Linked DNA regions of Homo sapiens: all the other regions are linked to region 1. The links are contacts of gene promoters, found by promoter capture Hi-C in blood cells and fetal thymus (Javierre and others, 2016). All regions are on one chromosome and are shown on one strand. The core of a region is centred on a gene start or on the middle of the fragment in contact, and the rest is flanking DNA. Distances in the headings are between cores, read along the strand shown. Region 1 holds the start of SNHG25 (small nucleolar RNA host gene 25). Region 2 overlaps SMURF2 (SMAD specific E3 ubiquitin protein ligase 2). Region 3 overlaps CCDC47 (coiled-coil domain containing 47). Region 4 overlaps CEP95 (centrosomal protein 95). Region 5 overlaps DDX5 (DEAD-box helicase 5). Region 6 overlaps POLG2 (DNA polymerase gamma 2, accessory subunit). Region 7 overlaps STRADA (STE20 related adaptor alpha).

Region 1 (2,704 bases), core at 153-2,652:
GAGCACCGGGGCCCTCACCTGGCAATCGCAGCTTTCATTTACTGCGTTGATCACTGCCCAGTCCTAAGGCTACAAAGCCATCCTCACTACATCCTTCAAACTATGTGCCATTATCTTCAGCCCACATTTAAAGAATCCAGTGAAAGTTCGTAACTGAGGGGGTAGGGCAGTGGTGCTCCTGGGCTGCAGTTTACACCCTTCATTGTCTAGTATAATGTTAATTCGGGACACCTTCATTCATCGAATGTCCATGTAGTGAACGCATACGTGCATCCTTGCCCACCATTGCTGCCCTGTACTCAGAACTGATGCACCTTTCACTGGAGCCCTTGTGGAAGATCTTTTACCAATCACTGAATCTGGACTGTGTAACTAGGTGTCTATGTTGTCCCCAACCATATATAAAATCTAATTCACCTTCACAACCGCCCTATAATTTTGAACTGTTTAGGAGTGACAGATTAACCTGCCCAAAGCTTTAGTCCCATGCTTGTCAGTACTCCTGCATGGTTATTTGTAAACAGGTCGATTACCCTTTAGTCAGGAGTTAACTCAATGCAGTTCCACACCGAATCTGTTTATGTCAAGTACACAACAGCCCTGCAGACGCCATTCCACGCTGCCTTCAACTAAATCTGCGCGTCTGATGGCAGACGCGACAGCCTGGGACTTATGTCGAACTCACGGCGAAGGCACAGCGCGCGCGATACACTCAGGGAAGGCTGGGCTGGGGAACGTATGGGAGCAGAGGGGCACTCCTTACGCATCAAGAGTCCGCGTATCCCCGTCAGCCACCGCCCCCCTAACACGCCATTCCAGCCTTGGTATTACGGATTGAGGCCTGTCGTGGCAAAACAGCTGGAAAATTGCCCAGCCTAGCAGCCGGACAGTCAGGTTACTTCTTGTCGCTCGCGGTTAAAAAGGCCGCCCGCGGGAGGCCAGGCGGCCCCAGTTATGCGCAAGCACATGCTCTAGCGCTGCAGATTGACCCCCGGCGCCACGAGGAAGCTCGGCGGGGGCTCAAAGACAGCGCGTCGCCAACGACACACACCGACACCAGGGTTGGGTTCAAACCACTTTATTGACGGGAATGGGGTGGCAAAGCAGCAAGGACGATGACATCCGACGTCCTCGGCTGGGAGCTACAAGAACGAGAGTGATAGATCAGCGGGTGTGCGCGCGCCCGCCCGCCAGCCCCCTCCCAGCTCCGCTCGGGCAGGCTCAGACTCCAGTTCGCATCACCCGCGTCAGCAGTCTAACACGTGCTTTAATTGGAATGTCATCACAGCAGGCCGGCCCCCCTACGCCTCCCTGCTCCCGAGCCACGACCTCCGGGGCCCACCCAGCCAGACGACCCGCCAGGAATACAACCTGACCTCCCGGAACCTGCAGGCGCTGAAAGACAGGGGAGCGTCGATGGCGTTCTTTTAAAGGAGCAGACCAGCGCTGATGGGCGGGCTTTACTGCCATTAACCAATAGCAAGTTCACCTTGCGACCACGTGCGCGTAAAGTTGTCTGGTGACTGGTAGTCCTTGCTGAGTCCTCCAGAGGATAGATGGGTCACATACCAACCATAGAGATGGGAGTCGCTCAGTCTCAAATCCATTTGCGTTTCAGCGACTCCACCGCCAGCTGGTAATGAGCGCATCTCTCCGCAGTACGCAAAAGAAAACTTCACCAAGAGCAGGCGACGATGATGCCTAACTTGGATGACATGTTCTGTGCCAGGAGCTAGGATAGGAGTTGAGAATGGAAAGTTAAAAACTGTCCCCAAGTGCAAAATAACCTGTCGTGGTAGAAAGAGCTTGTATTGAAAATGGACCGATCTGCACCACATCCTGACTTTGTGATGCGTTCGCTCTGTGACCTTGCTCAGTTAACCTTTCTGAGATTCAGTTTCTGGAAATTAGGAATACCCCCCCGCCGCCCCCCCCCAACACACACACACCGCGAAAAAAAAAAATTGTAAGGATTCGGTGAATTAATGCCAATTGCCTGGCACATTCTAAGTGGTAAACAAAGGTATTTAAAGGGCAGAGTGATGTGAAAAACTTCCTGGGATTGCAAAACTTTAATAAATACTAACATAGCGCTATGAACAGCCTACTGTAGAAGCCCAAAGGACAGAAAGCCTGACTTTGGGAAAGCTTCGCAGAGTTGATTGAGCCTGTTCCCCGGACATACAGGTGGATGAATGATAGTTTGCTTAACTGGGGGAGGACACAGTACACCAGCAGTCACAGTCGCCGGTTATCTTTATTGCCTCCCTGTTTTCCTTGGGAATTCTTTTCCTTTTTTTCCTCTTAATACGGAAAATTTATTGTTTTGTGTGTGTGTGTGTATGTGACAGTGAAATCATTTCACCCTATGGGTTTGTAGTTGAATGGGCTCTTATTTTCCTTATTTTCTATATAGACTTTAAATTCAAAAAATTCCTCTTTGGCCGGGCGCGGTGGCTCACGCCTGTAATCCCAGCACTCTGGGAGACGGAGGCGGATGGATCAGGTCAGGAGTTCAAGAACAGCCTGGCCAACATGGCGAAACCCTGTCTCTACTAAAAATACAAAAATTAGCCGGGCGTGGTGGCAGGCCCCTGTAATCCCAGCTACTCAGGAGGTTGAGGCAGGAGAATCGCTTGAACCCGGGAGGCGGAGGTTGCAATGAGCTGAGATCGCGCCATTACACTCTAACCTGAGCAACAGA
Region 2 (2,732 bases), core at 39-2,538, 470 kb before region 1:
ATGTAGAAGTTTTTTGGCACATTGTAAAATACTCTAGATGTATTATTTAAATGTGAACACTGGAAATGGAGATAAGCAGAGGTATGTGATAACCGGCTATAATCTGGCAACTGCTTTAGGTATGTGAGGTGGTCAGGGAGAGGAAGAGAGATAAAGACATTGCTTTCTGGATGACTGGAAACGTGGTGCAGTTCACAGCACTACGGAGGTCAAAAAGAAGAGCAGGTTCACTAGGGAAGCTGATGAATTCCATTTTGAAAAAATATAATTTGAAGTGCTGGTGAGGAATCTAAATGGGTGTATGAGTTCGGAGCTTGGGAAGAGAGTGAGGCTAGAGAAACAGATTGGGACTCAATTAACAGCATTTACTGAAAGCTTGCTAGGTACATAAGCTTTGCTATGAATGGAATGTGTCCCCCAATATTCCTATGTTGAAGCCTAATCCCCAATGTGATGGTATTTGAAGGTGATGCATTTGGGAGGTAATGAGGTCATGAGGGTGGAGCCTTCATGAATAGGATTAGTGCCCCTATAACAGGAGACATGGGAGAGATTATGGGGGCCATGCAAGCATACAGGGAGAAGGTGGGAGTATGCAAACCAGGAAGACGGCCCTCACCAGACATTGACTCTGCTGGCACCTTGATCTTGGACTTCTCAGCCTCCATTGATTTGTGAAAAACAAATGTTTGCTGTTTAAGCCACCTAATCTATGGTATTTGTTTTGGCTAAGGCAAACGTCTTGCCAAATTATATTCTTCTTCTTTTTTTTTTTTTTTTTTTTTTTTTGAGACAAGAGTCTCGCCGTGTCACCCAGGCGGGAGTGCAGTGGTATGATCTCGGCTCACGGGAGGCTCTGCCTCCCGGGTTCAGGCGATTCTCCTGCCTCAGCCTCCAGAGTAGCTGGGACTACAGGCACATGCCACCATGCCTGGCAAATTTTTTGTATTTTTAGTAGAGACGGGGTTTCACCATGTTAGCCAGGCTGGTCTCGATCTCCTGATCTCATGATCTGCCCGCCTCGGCCTCCCAAAGTGTTAGTATTACAGGCATGAGCCACCGTGCCCGGCCATGTTCTTTTTTAATGTGTTTGCAACCTCGTAGGTTAATTTTATGAGAAATTTTAGAGTTGAGTAATAATAATAGCCAGTGTTTATTGAGCACTTGCTGTGTACCAGGTACTGGTCTCATGTTCTCTGTGTTTCAATTTGTTTAATCTTTAAAACAACACCATGAGGTGGCTCTTAGTATCCTTCTGTCCTCATGTTTACAGATGAGCTATCTGAAGCAAAGAGAAGTTAAGTAGTTTTTAGGGTCACAAGTTCATAAGGGATAGCACCAGGTTCAAACCCATGCATTCTGACCCTAATTATTTAACTCTTTTATAGTGCTTATAGCTTAACACACTATATTACACTGCCTCTATAAGTGTCTCTAGAAAAAGAAGGTAAAGGAAGGAAACTTGGGAGTGGCCAAAAAGTGATGCAAGTCTTTTTCTACATATAAAATAATGTTTAGGCTTCATTGCAAGTATATACTTGAACTTTACAATAAGGTTTCCTTCTCTCGGCATCCTTATGAAGAAAGTAAATTGTGTGGTTTAATTTAAATATACAATATTCATCTCTTGAACAGCCATCAGTTATGAGTGGGTCTGTTTGAATGAAGGAGTCCAGTAGAGAAGGTGGTGGTTGAGTCTCCAGCAGCAGCAGACAGGATAATGTTTGGTCTGCACACAGCATAGGTCTTTAAGTCATGGTGAATTTTTGAATGGAGAACGGTACTTTTGTGTATTTTCATCCTCATATAGGAATAAAGAATTCACAGAAATACTGGTTTAAGATATATAACAAATCCTTTCAGATGGTTTCTCAAAATAATAGCTTTCGTAGAGTGCCTGCTATGTACCAGATACCTAGACCAAGTGTTTTACATTTATCTCATACTGAATGTGCTGCTTGGCTTTAGCTGAGCTTTTACTTTATTTATTTATTTATTTTAGAGGCGGAGTCTCACTATATTGCCCAGGCTGGTCTCTAACTCTTGGGCTCAAGTGATTCTCTCACCTCAGCCTTCCAAAGTGCTAGGATTATAGGCGTAAGCCACCGCACCCAGCCCTTTTTTATTTTTAACATGTGAACTTACACCAGAAGTTGATTATTATGCTTGTTAAGATAAGCTTTACTTTAAAATTACCTCTGATCACGATAAGTAAAAAAAATTATAATTGTGACTAGAATAAAATCTATAATTCTGACTAGATTTCTTTAAAATCTGCATTTATTATGTCAAAGTAGATCTATTATTGATAAACTTGCACTCAGTGTTTAGAAAGCTTATTTGTATAGTCTCATCTTGTTTTATTAATGTAAAAAGTACGCATGTTTGTGAGAACTTTACCAAAATCTTCATCTTTGTTGAAAAAAAATTTTTAAGTAGTTACTTAAAAGTTGTTTGATATGAGTGGACTAGAAAGGTCATTTTAAATTTGTTAACTGAGGCTGGGCGCAGTGGCTCATGCCTGTAATTCTAACAGTCTGGGAGACTGAGGTAGGAGGATTGCTTGAGCCTGGGCAACATGGCAAGACCCCATCTCTGCAAAAAAATTTTAGACATTAGCAAGGCATGGTGGTGTGCGCCTGTAGTCCCAGGTACTCAGAGGTTGAGATGGGAGGATCTCTTGAGCCCAGAAAATTTAACTGGAGTCTGCAGTGAGTCGTGTTTGCGCCACT
Region 3 (2,721 bases), core at 111-2,610, 400 kb after region 1:
TTACTCTTCTATGTAACTTCCTAATTCCTAAATAAAAATATGATAAATTTGATAATTTTTATCACATTTGATAAATATGATGTCTCAAATAGAGCATTATGAATTTAAGTATTATGTGCAGGTATGGTGTCTGTGCTAATAAGAAATTTGCAATGAATAACCTGATGGAACAAGATTCTTAAAATTTATTGAACTGAAGTAGAATGTATCTTCTGGCAGTTATACATTTATGATATAATGCCATCATGAATGGTATGGTGAACATCAGGCTAAGTGTTCCCTGGGTACAGAAAAAAATCAAACCAGAATAACAAAGGCTGGTTAATTATAGTAGTTTCTTTCAAAACTGAGATTTTAGTTTACCTTTGCTTCATTTGAAGTTGATTTAATTTTTATTCACTAATGTAGATATTGGCAATTATTTTTATAACTATCTTCTAGAATGTTATGGTGCAAGCCTAAGTTTTTGAATAATACTATAGGCAGTATTCTAATTTGGATTTTTTTTTAACATATGTTTCAAGCTTAATTTGAATTCTCTCGTCCCCACTCCCTTTCTCTATTTATTACCCCTTCTTTCTCTAGGAGGCTGCATTGAGGCGTGAGCAAAAGAAGTTGGAAAAGAAGCAAATGAAAATGAAACAAATCAAAGTGAAAGCCATGTAAAGCCATCCCAGAGATTTGAGTTCTGATGCCACCTGTAAGCTCTGAATTCACAGGAAACATGAAAAACGCCAGTCCATTTCTCAACCTTAAATTTCAGACAGTCTTGGGCAACTGAGAAATCCTTATTTCATCATCTACTCTGTTTGGGGTTTGGGGTTTTACAGAGATTGAAGATACCTGGAAAGGGCTCTGTTTCAAGAATTTTTTTTTCCAGATAATCAAATTATTTTGATTATTTTATAAAAGGAATGATCTATGAAATCTGTGTAGGTTTTAAATATTTTAAAAATTATAATACAAATCATCAGTGCTTTTAGTACTTCAGTGTTTAAAGAAATACCGTGAAATTTATAGGTAGATAACCAGATTGTTGCTTTTTGTTTAAACCAAGCAGTTGAAATGGCTATAAAGACTGACTCTAAACCAAGATTCTGCAAATAATGATTGGAATTGCACAATAAACATTGCTTGATGTTTTCTTGTATGTCTACATTAAACTTGAGAAAAAGTAAAAATTAGAACACTGTATGTAGTAATGAAATTTCAGGGACCCAGAACATAATGTAGTATATGTTTTTAGGTGGGAGATGCTGATAACAAAATTAATAGGAAGTCTGTAGGCATTAGGATACTGACATGTACATGGAAAATTCTAGGGACAGGAGCATCATTTTTTCCTTACCTGATACCACGAACCAGTGACAACGTGAATGCTGTATTTTAAGTGGTTGTATGTTTATTTTCTTGAGTAACAAATGCATGAAAAATTAATGCTTCACCTAGGTAAGATCATTGGTCTGTGTGAAATCACAAATGTTTTTTCCTTCTTGGTTGCTGCAGCCTGGTGGATGTTCATGGAGAAGCTCTGTTCTCTATATTATGGCTGTGTGCCGTTGCTTCTCCCTCTGCTTTTATCTTTTCCACAGTTGAGGCTGGGTATGTTCTTTCAAAGAAATGGCCATGAATATGTGTAAGTATACTTTTGAAAATGAGCTTTCCTAAACTATTGAGAGTTCTTTCCACCTCTTGCGGAACCAACTCTTGGAGGAGAGGCCCATGTATCTGCACGAGCACTTAGCTTGTTCAGATCTCTGCATTTTATAAATGCTTCTTACCAAGAAAGCATTTTTAGGTCATTGCTTGTACCAGGTAATTTTTGCCGGGGATGGGTAAGGGTTGGGTTTTCTGGTGGGAGTGGGGTGGTGGGTATTTTTTGTTGATGCTTTAGTGCAGGCCTGTTCTGAGGCAATAACAAGTTGCTGTGAAAACAGCATGTGCTGCTGCCTTTGTAACTGCATGGAAACTTTTCACATGGGTTTTTCTCCAAGTTAATACAGAAATATGTAAACTGAGAGATGCAAATGTAATATTTTTAACAGTTCATGAAGTTGTTATTAAAATAACTAACATAAAACTTAATTACTTTAATATTATATAATTATAGTAGTGGCCTTGTTTTACAAACCTTTAAATTACATTTTAGAAATCAAAGTTGATAGTCTTAGTTATCTTTTGAGTAAGAAAAGCTTTCCTAAAGTCCCATACATTTGGACCATGGCAGCTAATTTTGTAACTTAAGCATTCATATGAACTACCTATGGACATCTATTAAAGTGATTGACAAAATCTCAGAGTGCCGCCTTGACTTTGTGGAGTTATCCTACAAGAGTATAAGCTCAGAGGAAAATTCTTTCTGTTCGATAAAAGTCAGCACTGAAATGCTTTTCCTTCAAAAGAGTTCATCTGAATATTCCTTTTGTTATTACCATTCAATCATTTTAAAAACATTTTATATTTTTAGAGCCCCATATGTTATTTATGGGCTCCTCCCTGCATTCCACCTCTTAAGACTCCATTAACTCTCCTGTGAATGCGAGGACAAAGAGAGGAGGATGTTGTTTAGTGTCACAAACTGGAAAACCACTAAGTCTCCAATCTCATTTGCATTGCCTGGATGTTTAGCAATGCCAAAATAAGCACTGGACTGTAAGACAAAGACCTGGCTTTTAGTGCCAGCAGAACTAATTACTAATCCTTTGACTTTCGGCAAGTTAT
Region 4 (2,716 bases), core at 99-2,598, 370 kb before region 1:
CTGAGACACATTTTTTACAATGTACTATACCTAAAAAAGAAGGCATTGCCTGTGCTCTTCGAACCATGAAGACATAGCATTATGCTCAACCTCTAGTTAGCAAGAAGTGCAATCAAACCTGTCATGACAATACATTTTTGTCTATGAAAGAAGCACAAGTTTAAAAACTGTGAAAATGATCAATGATACTGGCTCATGAAGGTCCTGTAACCCAGCATTGCTATACTGTTGGTAAATGTACAGTCATGGCCTTTTTGGAAAACAGTCTGGCAACTTTTATTATTAGCCTTAAAACATTTACACTGTCTTACTCTGAATCTAGCCTCAAGATATGAGGAAAAAAAGAATAAACATTAAGTATCACGTTTTTGATAATATTTAAAAAAACTCTCTACTTTAGAGGAATGGCTTAGTAATTTATGAAGCATCCACATGAATGATGTTATACAGTGATTACAAATTATTATAAAGAATTTAACAACTTGAGGCTGGGCGCAGGGGCTCACGCCTGTAATCCCACCACTTTGGGAGGCTGAGGCAGGCGGATCACTTGAGGTCAGGAGTTCAAGACCAGCCTTGCCAACACGGTGAAAACTCACCTTTACTAAAGATACAAAAATTAGCCAGCCGTGGCGGCGTGCACCTGTAGTCCCAGCTACTCAGGAGGCTGAGGCACAAGAATCACTCGAAACCGGGAGGCAGAGGTTGCAGTAAGCTGAGATTGTGCCACTGCACACTCCAGCCTGTGTGACACAGCAAGACTGTGTCTCAAAAAAAAAATTAAACAACTTGAGAACACTTAATGTTAAGTTTAAAAATGCAGGAAACGAGCCTGGTGAGGTGGGTCATGCCTATAATCCCAGCACTCTGGGAGGCTGCAGCAGGAGGATCGCTTGAGGCCAGGAATTCAAGACCAGCCTGGTCAATATAGCAAGATGCCATCTCTGTTAAAAAAAAAAAAAAAAAAAAAAATTAGCCAGGTGTGGTGGCGCACACCTGTGGTCCCAGCTACTTGGGCTTAAGCTCAGGAGTTCAAGGCTACAGTGAACTCTGATCACGCCACTGTACTCCACCATGAGTGTCAGAGCAAGACCCTGTCTCTTTATTAAAAAAGCAGGGGTGAGGGGCAGGCAACGAAATTATATAGACATATGACTAAATCCAAAAAAGAAAAAAATAGTAAAAAGGACTAAAAAATTTAACAAAATGTTAACAGCAGTTATTTAGTTCGGAATAGATTTTTTTTCCTGCTTTTTCTATTTTGCAAGTTTTTTGCAAAGATGATGACGTACTTTGATGATTAAGAGAAAAACAGGGACCAGGCGCGGTGGCTCATGCCTGTAATCCCAGCACTTTGGGAGGACAAGGCAGGTGGATCACCTGAGATCAGGAGTTCGAGGCCAGCCTGACCAACATGGTGAAACCCCATCTCTACTAAAAATATAAAAATTAGCCGGGCATGGTGGCGCGTGCCTGTAATCCCAGCTACTCAGGAGGCTGAGGCAGGAGAATCCCTTGAACCTGGGAAGCAGAGTTTGCAGTGAGTCGAGATCATGCCACCACACTCCAGCCTGGGCAACAGAATGAGACTCCGTCTCAAAAAAGAAAAAAAAAGAAAAATATAAAAATGAGTAGATAGTTGATACTGAGATTTAGGTATTATATGTAACTCAAGGTTCTTAAAACTCCCTCAGGAAAGTTTAAAATATGAGAAGTTAGTAGAAGTTTCACATTAGCTTTTTTTGGTGCCATCTTGGTATATTACGTGTGATTTTAATTCTTAGTCCAAAAAGCGTAACTTGTTTTCATCAAATTCAGAGACACTAAGTGCTACCTCCCAAAAGAAACTCTTTTCCATGATGATTTAGATTCTTTAGTACTTTCTGGCTCTTCCAAACGTTCTCCTCGATCAGATTCTTTAAAATACTGTTCAGTTTCACCTGTTCAGAACAGATAAAAACAATACCAAAAAACCCCTAAGTGAATACTACTTTTTCTATGTAAGAGGCAGGGAAAGGTAAGGACAGTGAGGCACCCCTAACTTGCCATGGTAAACAGGGTTCTAGTGAAAGTGCAATCAGAAAGAACCAAATCACCTGTAATGAGCATGTATTATTCGAGTAACAAAGAAACAAGAATATTGCTTTAAAAACAGGGTCTACAGTTGTATGAGCAATGTTTTATTTTTTAAGTCAGTGGCAGGTCCATTCAATATTTTTATACCTCTCCATCTGTAAAGGATGTCTGAGGTATATCAAGGTGACAGAAAACGTGATTGTGTCAACATAATGCAAGCTCCAAGATAATCATGCCTTAGGCTGAGTCAGGCTGTATCAGGGCTTGGATGAAATTTTTCTTAAGACCATCAGTCTTTTTCCACCCCACCATACTTGAAGAATACATACTTTCACCAGTAGCTATAACTCACTAGGGAAATAATTTCAAAATACATGTAGGTGAAACCTCCCATGATTCAGATTTACCCCTTTGGATATTCTCATGCCCATGTCTAGAGATTCACCATTCAAACACCCACCTTCATTTTTTTCTACTTCCATATTCACCAAGCAACATTTCAATAACATCAATTAACATTTATTATGCATTTACTCTGAGCTAGGCTGTGTGCCCAACTGTTTACACACATCTACTTACTTAACTTTCACAACAACCATGAAAGAATTTCAGATGAGAAAACAGGCTTAGAGAGCTGCCA
Region 5 (2,793 bases), core at 271-2,770, 350 kb before region 1:
TTGTCATCAATTATGACTACCCTAACTCCTCAGAGGATTATATTCATCGAATTGGAAGAACTGCTCGCAGTACCAAAACAGGCACAGCATACACTTTCTTTACACCTAATAACATAAAGCAAGTGAGCGACCTTATCTCTGTGCTTCGTGAAGCTAATCAAGCAATTAATCCCAAGTTGCTTCAGTTGGTCGAAGACAGAGGTTCAGGTAAGGATGACTGATAGGAAATGTTGGTAGTTACGAGTCACATCGTTGTCTACAAATCCATTTAAATGGTATTGGAGGGTGAGTAAAACCTTGAATGTGAAAACTTAAGCTGAAAAATTGTAAAAACATTTCACGCCTACCATGAATAGATCTGTTTCTTTCTGTCCACAATGATTTGTGTCATAGACATAATTGATCAATTTGCAATTGTTTTCTTGACAGGTCGTTCCAGGGGTAGAGGAGGCATGAAGGATGACCGTCGGGACAGATACTCTGCGGGCAAAAGGGGTGGATTTAATACCTTTAGAGACAGGGAAAATTATGACAGAGGTTACTCTAGCCTGCTTAAAAGAGATTTTGGGGCAAAAACTCAGAATGGTGTTTACAGTGCTGCAAATTACACCAATGGGAGCTTTGGAAGTAATTTTGTGTCTGCTGGTATACAGACCAGTTTTAGGACTGGTAATCCAACAGGGACTTACCAGAATGGTTATGATAGCACTCAGCAATACGGAAGTAATGTTCCAAATATGCACAATGGTATGAACCAACAGGCATATGCATATCCTGCTACTGCAGCTGCACCTATGATTGGTTATCCAATGCCAACAGGATATTCCCAATAAGACTTTAGAAGTATATGTAAATGTCTGTTTTTCATAATTGCTCTTTATATTGTGTGTTATCTGACAAGATAGTTATTTAAGAAACATGGGAATTGCAGAAATGACTGCAGTGCAGCAGTAATTATGGTGCACTTTTTCGCTATTTAAGTTGGATATTTCTCTACATTCCTGAAACAATTTTTAGGTTTTTTTTGTACTAGAAAATGCAGGCAGTGTTTTCACAAAAGTAAATGTACAGTGATTTGAAATACAATAAATGAAGGCAATGCATGGCCTTCCAATAAAAAATATTTGAAGACTGAATTAAGTGGAAATTGTACTTTATTTTATATAATGTCATGTAAAACTTTGCTTAAGATGGTCTGGTTTTTTTTTTGTTTTTGTTTGGTTTTTTTTTTCCATGAAAACAAATGACTGTTCCTTTTTATTTAATTTGGGAGGCAGGGGGAATCAGAAGGCCCTTCTTTATAATGAGCTATTCATATTGCAGGAGTCAGAATGAATTGATACAGGTGAATTTTTAGTTACAGGCTAAATTGCATAAAAGCTTTGTCAGCTTCCAGCATCAGGGGAGTCATTTAATAGCCTTTTTCCTTATTTGCTAGTATGGTTAAATGAGAAAATAGTAAAATAGATACAAAGTCATCTATATAGTGTGAGAACGTGGGTGACTTTTTCAAAGTTTATAATTTAAAAAGCTCCAAATAACTGGCTTTTTCAAGAGACTTATACTCATGCTCTTGGCTATACTGTGAATTACTGAAATGTTGAACAAACCTGTGAAAGACATACATTAGCCCTTTAAGATGGCCAGGAGCTAAGCTTGAGTCTCCTTTACTGAATTTCGTTCTTAGTGCAGGTTACTTGTAGATTCTAGTCTTCACAGGCTCCCTGGGGCTCTTAACTAGTCACACTGGGAGTCATGAATGTCTTTCCAATAATTCAGGGAATTCTAGAGATCCTCAAACTGTAAGGTCTATTCATACTCAACACAAGGAAAAAACCTCATTAAAATTAATGACTAATCAGGAGGCAACGTAACCAAAAGCACAGTGAATGAAAGTTTTCATGGTAGGTTCAACATGGGTTTATTGCTAGAAAGATCCAGGGGATAGCTTTAGGTTTAACTTCGGCTCACCAACGTAACTTTCTAATCATTTATTTCAGTAATAGCTAGAAGTGGGTCTGAATGTTTTCCCAGAGTCTGATACGTGTTTTTTTTTGCCAGAAGAGAGGTCTTCAGGAGACTTCATTTAAATTCTGATTATTAAACTGAGGCTTTAATTGATGTTAATGCCTTATGTCAAATGTAAAGTTAGAATTTGCTAGGGCTGGGATAGGGAGTGATATTTCTAGGACTTAGACATTGAAAACTAATTCAGCCTGTAGTAACCTGGATGGTTTTCAATGGCATGGTTAGTCAAATTCATGGTTTTAAACTTAGAAGCAGCTTTCGGGGGAGAGGGTAGGTTGGAGCATTTATTACATATTTTACTGTTTAATGTCTTAACCGTGGGCCTTTTAATTTGTAAACACTGAAATGATTGTTGGGCTGTGGAAAACATTTACCTATTTACCTTGGAAGTTTTAAAAGACAGTCCACTTTTTAGCATGTGTGTTGTGTCCAGCCTGTGGTCGTCTTAACTAATAAATGTGATTTTTCTCCCCATTCTCTCTTTTTATTTATTTGCGTATAGGCCTTTTACCTGGTGTGAGTTCCTGAATGTGGAAAACACCTGGCAGTAGTACCCAGCTTTGCAGTTAATTACTATCTAGCTGGCCTTTTTTTAAACCCTTGTATACACTTGTAAAGAAGAACTATTTCCTGAACCTGGTACAGCACTTTACTAATGATAAAACTTTACTCCTGAATTACATTAACTCAATTGCTAAGCTGTTACCCCTCTTAATCAGGTAGTAGTTTGGTAGTCTCACAGTGAAATGTAGATTGTTCCTTTTT
Region 6 (2,700 bases), core at 137-2,636, 330 kb before region 1:
TCTGATGGAGTCCTACAAAGGAAATAAACAGTAATGAGATAGTGTGACTTGGTAAGCATACAGAAGGTCAGCCGTGCATCTATCTGTTTGGTTATTGCTGAACTAGAAGCTATAAGCTAGCTACTCAATAAAGGAAACATGATTTTGGTATAATTTGTTATACCAAATTGCATCTTTATTATAATATTGTTTATTGTAAGAGACTTCAGTCTAAAATAATTGTTCTTGGATTGCATCCAAGAACCAAAAGGCTGAGGTTATTATGCGGTTCTTCTGTGATATCACCCCAAATGATGTGTTGAGGTACCAGTGTTTATTCTCAGATTTTATTTTCTTTTATGACTTTTCAGCTCTAGCAATAAGTTAGAAACTGTCTGAAAATATTACTTTAAATACAATTCAGAAACTTTAAAAATGTTGGGTTTTTTTGGTCCACCCTTAAGCCCTGAGTCTGTGACTCTTGAGAGTGCATGAACACTGAATTACAGCTGGCAACGTGGAGGAATTTATTATTTACATTTGTGCTCATGTGTCTGTTTAACTACTTTTTTCTTAGGTATGATGAAATGAGTATTCTCTTCACAGTTTTGGTTACTGAAACTACTTTGGAGAATGGATTAATACATCTGAGAAGCAGAGACACCACAATGAAGGAAATGATGCATATATCCAAATTAAAAGACTTTTTGATTAAGTATATATCATCAGCTAAGAATGTATAGATTTTTATATTTGTATAATAAATATTCTTCTCTCCTAATTTGGTTGTCTTATGTTCACTTAGATTTATTTCTAGCCCCTTTGCACTTATAAAGTGGACATTTGTGGTGCTTGCTTTCATTCAGTGTTTATATTTTTTATGTCTTTCATTGTATCAGGAATATGTTCAGCTACAAGAAACAAAAATCTACTATACTGGATTAAGCAAATTGGGGTTTGTTTTTCTTACATACAAGAACTCTAGCGGGTAGACTGTCCAAAGCTAGTATTACTGTTTCTATAGTTAGGGACCCAGGCACTTCCCTTCTGTTCTGCCATGTTTAGTACGCTGGTGTTTATCATTGTTGCTTCGGGATCTTAGGTGGCTGCTGTATTTCCAGCCTAATTATCATTCTAGTTAGGAGAAAAGTTAAAGAGACAAGAGCTAGTCAGCCAACACTCTTCCCTTTTAAATTAGGGAAGTAAAAACTTTTCCAGACATCCCAGTCGGGAGATGTCTTTACATCTCTTTGGTCAGAACTAAATCACATGATAATTTCTAGGCAAATCACCATCCAAGGGAATGAAAATGATCTGATTTAGATCAAACGCAATTTATCCCTTGAGGCTGCAATAGTATCTTACTCTCTCAGAAATGGGCTTTGTTACCAGGAAGGAAAAGGTCTTTATGGAATCTGCCACATCTATACTGTCAGATATCAAAAATTAACCTAAAACTAAACTTTTAAAACTTAGAGTATTTACGGATTTTTGAAAAGCAACTAAAATATATGTTAGATGTCATATATTGTAGTTTGTTTCCTGTCTAATATCTATGTTTATAAGAAATCTTTTAACTTTTATGTGTTGATATGATTGTGTAAAATATCCCATTGTTACCAACTTGACAAAAATTCCAACTGATAGTGCCTGTAAAATATTTCAAAAGTTTGACTGACTTAATTGATTTTACTTGGTAGGTTTTTCTCTTTTTTTTTTTATTTTAATTTTAATTTTTTTTGTAGAGACAGGGTCTCACTATGTTGGCTAAGCTGATCTTTCACTCCGAGCCTCAAGTAGTCCTCCTGCCTTGACCTCCTAAAATGATGGGATAACAATTTTGAGCCACTGCACCTAGCCTTGTTTTGGTTATTTTATGCTTTTTTTTATTATGGAGAATTTTAAAAGCAGACATATAATTGTACTAATTCTATGTAGTGATCATCTAGCACCAACAACAATCAACCTTTGGCCAGTCCCACCTCATCCACTAATACCACCCTTCCATATTATATCAGTAATTTATTTATTTACATTTATTTATTAATTTAAGAGACAGGGTCTCACTATGTGGCCCAGGCTGGTCTCAAACTCCTAGGCTCAAGTGATCCTCCTGTCTCAGCCTCCCAAAATATGGGGATTACAGGCATGAACCACCTCACCTGGCCTCCTTGAATATTATTTCAAGGCAGATAGCAGCTACCATTTAATCTGGAAATATTTAAGGATCTTTTGTTAATAACCACACTATTATCACATTAAAAAAATAACACTACATGATATCAAGGAATTATTTACAATTTTGTTGGGTGTGATAATGGTAGTATGTTTATATTTTTCTTTTTAAAAAAATCCTTGTCTGACAGATACATACATTTATGGTAATTGAGACTTGCTTTATAATTCTCCTGTTTAAAACAAACTTTTTTAAGTGGTGGGAGATGAAATAAGAATAGCACTGAGTTGGCCAGTGGCTGACGCTTGTAATCCCAACCCTTTGGGAGGCTGAGGCAGGTGGATTACCTGCGGTCAGGAGTTTGAGACCAGCCTGGCCAACATGGTGAAACTACTAAAAATACAAAAAATTAGCTGGGCGTGGTGGTGGGCGCCTGTAATCCCAGCTACTTGGGAGGCTGAGGCAGGAGAATCGCTTGAACCCAGGAGGCAGAGGTTGCAGTGAGCCAAGATCGCGCCATTGTACTCCAGCCTGGGTGACACAGT
Region 7 (2,700 bases), core at 57-2,556, 430 kb after region 1:
CTCTGTCACTAGCAATTCCAGCCACTCCTAATTACAAGCTTTAGTCAGGATACATATTCAAACATGTTTATAGTAGCACAGTCCATAATAGCAGAACTGAAAAACAACCCAAATGAGCCATCAAAGTTGGAATTGGATAAACTGAGATATATTCATGTGCTGAATATATGATACAGCAGTGAAAATGGGCGAACTACAGTGAAATACAACAATATGGCCAAATCTTAGAAATTTAAAAATTGATTAAATTAGAAATGGAATTTGGTGACAGGGCTTAATTTTGCTTGACTAGGTTCCTCTTATTGCCAGGGTAAGTGGTGAGGGAGACAGAGCCCACTTGAGGGTTTCTTTCCCCATCAGCAGCATCAACTGTTTTGAAACCACATACAGCCAATAATCTCAGCTCCTGCCAATAATCTCAGCTACTTGGGAGGCTGAGGCAGGAGGATCAATTGAGCCCAGGAGTTCGAGGCCACGGTGAGCCAGGAACTCACCACTGCACTTTAGCCTGAGCGACAAAGAGATAACCCATATCTTAAAAACAACAGCAACAAAACAACAAACAAACCAGATACACGTGAAACGTCAGCCAACAGGGTGGTAGATTAATCTCACTGGTTTGGGCCTGGGTCCTGTGCCATGTACTCACGTTTTGATTTTTGGCAAGTCACATAATCTCCTTGGCCCTCGTTTTTGTTAGTGAAAAGTGGAGATAAGATCTGTCCCGGCTACTTGACTGAGCTATGGAGGAATCATGTGCAATTTGGAAGTGCTCTGGAAAGTATACTCTGGTCATCTTACAGGTATAGAGCACCGTCATCTTTATGGTTTCCTCTGCAGAGCCGCTTCCCAAAGAGTTGTTCAAGCACCGCCTTTTCAGAACACTCTCAGCTCGTGCTCTTCTGGGTAGTGCTGGGTCAGGAGCCTCTCATACTTTCACAAAGGACTTTTTCTGCCTGGAGGTCAGGTTTATGAGTGCAGCACATGAAACATGAGCTGGCCCAGGTTTCTCCATTTCAGTTAGATGTGCATCTAAAGAAAGAGAATCTAAAAGAAAAGCAGTCACAGTCCCTAAATCATACACATAAATTTAGGTGTGGAAGAAGGAAACAGTCCATTAAGCTGAAAGAAGAGCTGTTGGTCTGCCGTGTGTTTTGCACAAACTCAGACATGGCTGGACACCTTCCTCTAGGACCTTAGAGGCCAGAGTTGTGACACATCCTAAGTGGCTGGACTCCAGCTTCACTCACAGCACACGTGGGCAGGAACGAGGGAGCAGGCCATGTCAGCTGCCTGGACGATGCCTGAGACCTGACAGCTCTGTGCCTTGCCTGCAGCTCAGGGCATCAGGGTTCTCCCACTTCACTTGGAAATGTCAGGCAATGACTGGCCCGGGCTCTTGGTTTGCTAAAGAGGGGGCTACTCCTGGCCACATTTTCCCTAGAGCAAGATTCAGCGTTTGACCTTTTGGGATCTTGTGGTGAGGACCTTAAAAATAGGATCCTAATGCATCAGGAAATTCATGAGAACCCCTACCTCTCCACCTGCTTCTCTTTTCCAAACATGCTTTCATTCTCTAGACATCCCTTCTCCAAGTGAGAATTTCATAGCTTTTAGCAAATGCATTGATTGTTGGAAAGGACAAGCAGATTAACATTTGATGGGAACAGGTCCTTGTCTCCTCATTTGTAGACAACCCTAACACTTGCTCTGATATTAGTGCTGATTACTACCCTGAATGTAGTGTTTTGTTTCTCTTCAAATAGTGCTGGCACTGAGTCGGGATTTGTGTGTGTGTTTAGATGCCAGTCTCCTCGTGGGTCTGAATTACCACCTTCACCCCACTCCCATCCCACCCCCAGTTTTCTCTACTAACCTATTTTTCTTTTTCTTTTTTAGACCAATGATGCGAGCTCAGAGTCAATAGCATCCTTCTCTAAACAGGAGGTCATGAGTAGCTTTCTGCCAGAGGGAGGGTGTTACGAGCTGCTCACTGTGATAGGTATGTGCAGGGGCCGTCCTTACTCTCCTGCTTTCTGCTCCAGGGGCTGCTGCAGCTTTCTCAGCAGCCCCAGATGTGTGTACAGCAGAGGCCATCCACTAGTTAGGAGGATTCATGGGCACAGACTTGCTTCTGTGGGTCTTCTCTGTTTTTTTATGCCAAGTATGGGAAGAGATCAAACTTCCAGGAAAGAAGCTCTTTTGCCATCTTTCCTTTGTGGCTGCCATGTTTCCGGTGTCCTGGCCATAGTGAGTCAGAAAGGTTGGCTGAGAAGGAACTGATGAGAGAAAAATCAAGAAATGTGAGCCATGAACATAACAGTTAAATTCTGCTGGGAAAAGGAAAAAAAAAAAAGTAACAGTAGTGAAAAATTTAACATTAAGTTTCTTTTGAAATCAAGTCCCTTTTTTAAAGGAAAATTTTCTTAAAACCTTTTGTTGTTCTTGTCCTTGCGTATGGCATTCCCTTTTTCTTTTAGGCAAAGGATTTGAGGACCTGATGACTGTGAATCTAGCAAGGTACAAACCAACAGGAGAGTACGTGACTGTACGGAGGATTAACCTAGAAGCTTGTTCCAATGAGATGGTAACATTCTTGCAGGTAATAAACCATGAGTGTGTCACATGGAGGGAGGGTGGGCTCTTGGCTCTGATAGGAATTACAAGGAATTACAAAGAAATGAAGGGAGACTAAACGTT

The links. The method cuts DNA at HindIII sites, captures the fragments that hold promoters and counts their contacts. A CHiCAGO score of 5 or more calls a contact.
Region 2: a contact is called between a fragment that was not itself captured here and the fragment with the promoter of SNHG25 in region 1, in 1 of 17 cell types (monocytes). The highest score is 6.0, in monocytes.
Region 3: a contact is called between a fragment that was not itself captured here and the fragment with the promoter of SNHG25 in region 1, in 1 of 17 cell types (monocytes). The highest score is 6.1, in monocytes.
Region 4: a fragment that was not itself captured here is called in contact with the fragment with the promoter of SNHG25 in region 1 in 1 of 17 cell types (monocytes); the score reaches 5.1 in monocytes.
Region 5: a contact is called between a fragment that was not itself captured here and the fragment with the promoter of SNHG25 in region 1, in 5 of 17 cell types (naive CD4 T cells, monocytes, non-activated CD4 T cells and 2 more). The highest score is 9.3, in naive CD4 T cells.
Region 6: a contact is called between a fragment that was not itself captured here and the fragment with the promoter of SNHG25 in region 1, in 1 of 17 cell types (monocytes). The highest score is 5.6, in monocytes.
Region 7: a contact is called between a fragment that was not itself captured here and the fragment with the promoter of SNHG25 in region 1, in 1 of 17 cell types (total CD8 T cells). The highest score is 5.1, in total CD8 T cells.

Annotation. Positions count from the first base shown.
Region 1 is chr17:64,144,668-64,147,371 of GRCh38, reverse strand. SNHG25 (small nucleolar RNA host gene 25) reads right to left here and starts at 1,402. Exons shown (of 2, transcript NR_132278.1): 1 at 1,372-1,402; 2 at 1,063-1,142. It overlaps SNORD104 (small nucleolar RNA, C/D box 104), which reads right to left and starts at 1,294; the gene lies at 1,215-1,294. It overlaps SNORA50C (small nucleolar RNA, H/ACA box 50C), which reads right to left and starts at 1,033; the gene lies at 901-1,033. It overlaps TEX2 (testis expressed 2), which reads left to right. Exons shown (of 12, transcript NM_001288732.2): 12 at 1-145. RefSeq lists enhancers at 974-1,183, 1,161-1,715. The HindIII fragment of the contact is 1,672 bases long and covers 479-2,150 here.
Region 2 is chr17:64,617,536-64,620,267 of GRCh38, reverse strand. All of the region lies in intron 1 of SMURF2 (SMAD specific E3 ubiquitin protein ligase 2), which reads left to right. Among named protein-coding and RNA genes, the nearest start is that of SMURF2, 43 kb to the left of the region's middle. The HindIII fragment of the contact is 1,787 bases long and covers 395-2,181 here.
Region 3 is chr17:63,744,826-63,747,546 of GRCh38, reverse strand. It overlaps CCDC47 (coiled-coil domain containing 47), which reads left to right. Exons shown (of 13, transcript NM_020198.3): 13 at 586-2,292. The coding sequence ends at 666. Among named protein-coding and RNA genes, the nearest start is that of STRADA, 4.4 kb to the right of the region's middle. The HindIII fragment of the contact is 1,668 bases long and covers 527-2,194 here.
Region 4 is chr17:64,515,947-64,518,662 of GRCh38, reverse strand. It overlaps CEP95 (centrosomal protein 95), which reads right to left. Exons shown (of 20, transcript NM_138363.3): 5 at 1,835-1,940. Among named protein-coding and RNA genes, the nearest start is that of CEP95, 10 kb to the right of the region's middle. The HindIII fragment of the contact is 6,240 bases long and covers 1-2,716 here.
Region 5 is chr17:64,497,963-64,500,755 of GRCh38, reverse strand. It overlaps DDX5 (DEAD-box helicase 5), which reads left to right. Exons shown (of 13, transcript NM_004396.5): 12 at 1-207; 13 at 430-2,502. The coding sequence ends at 833. Among named protein-coding and RNA genes, the nearest start is that of MIR3064, 1.5 kb to the left of the region's middle. The HindIII fragment of the contact is 275 bases long and covers 1,383-1,657 here.
Region 6 is chr17:64,475,845-64,478,544 of GRCh38, reverse strand. It overlaps POLG2 (DNA polymerase gamma 2, accessory subunit), which reads left to right. Exons shown (of 8, transcript NM_007215.4): 8 at 557-760. The coding sequence ends at 722. It also overlaps a transcript of MILR1 not described here. Among named protein-coding and RNA genes, the nearest start is that of POLG2, 20 kb to the left of the region's middle. The HindIII fragment of the contact is 2,875 bases long and covers 1-2,700 here.
Region 7 is chr17:63,713,308-63,716,007 of GRCh38, reverse strand. STRADA (STE20 related adaptor alpha) reads left to right here. Exons shown (of 13, transcript NM_001003787.4): 5 at 1,900-2,002; 6 at 2,481-2,602. Among named protein-coding and RNA genes, the nearest start is that of LIMD2, 15 kb to the right of the region's middle. The HindIII fragment of the contact is 2,532 bases long and covers 41-2,572 here.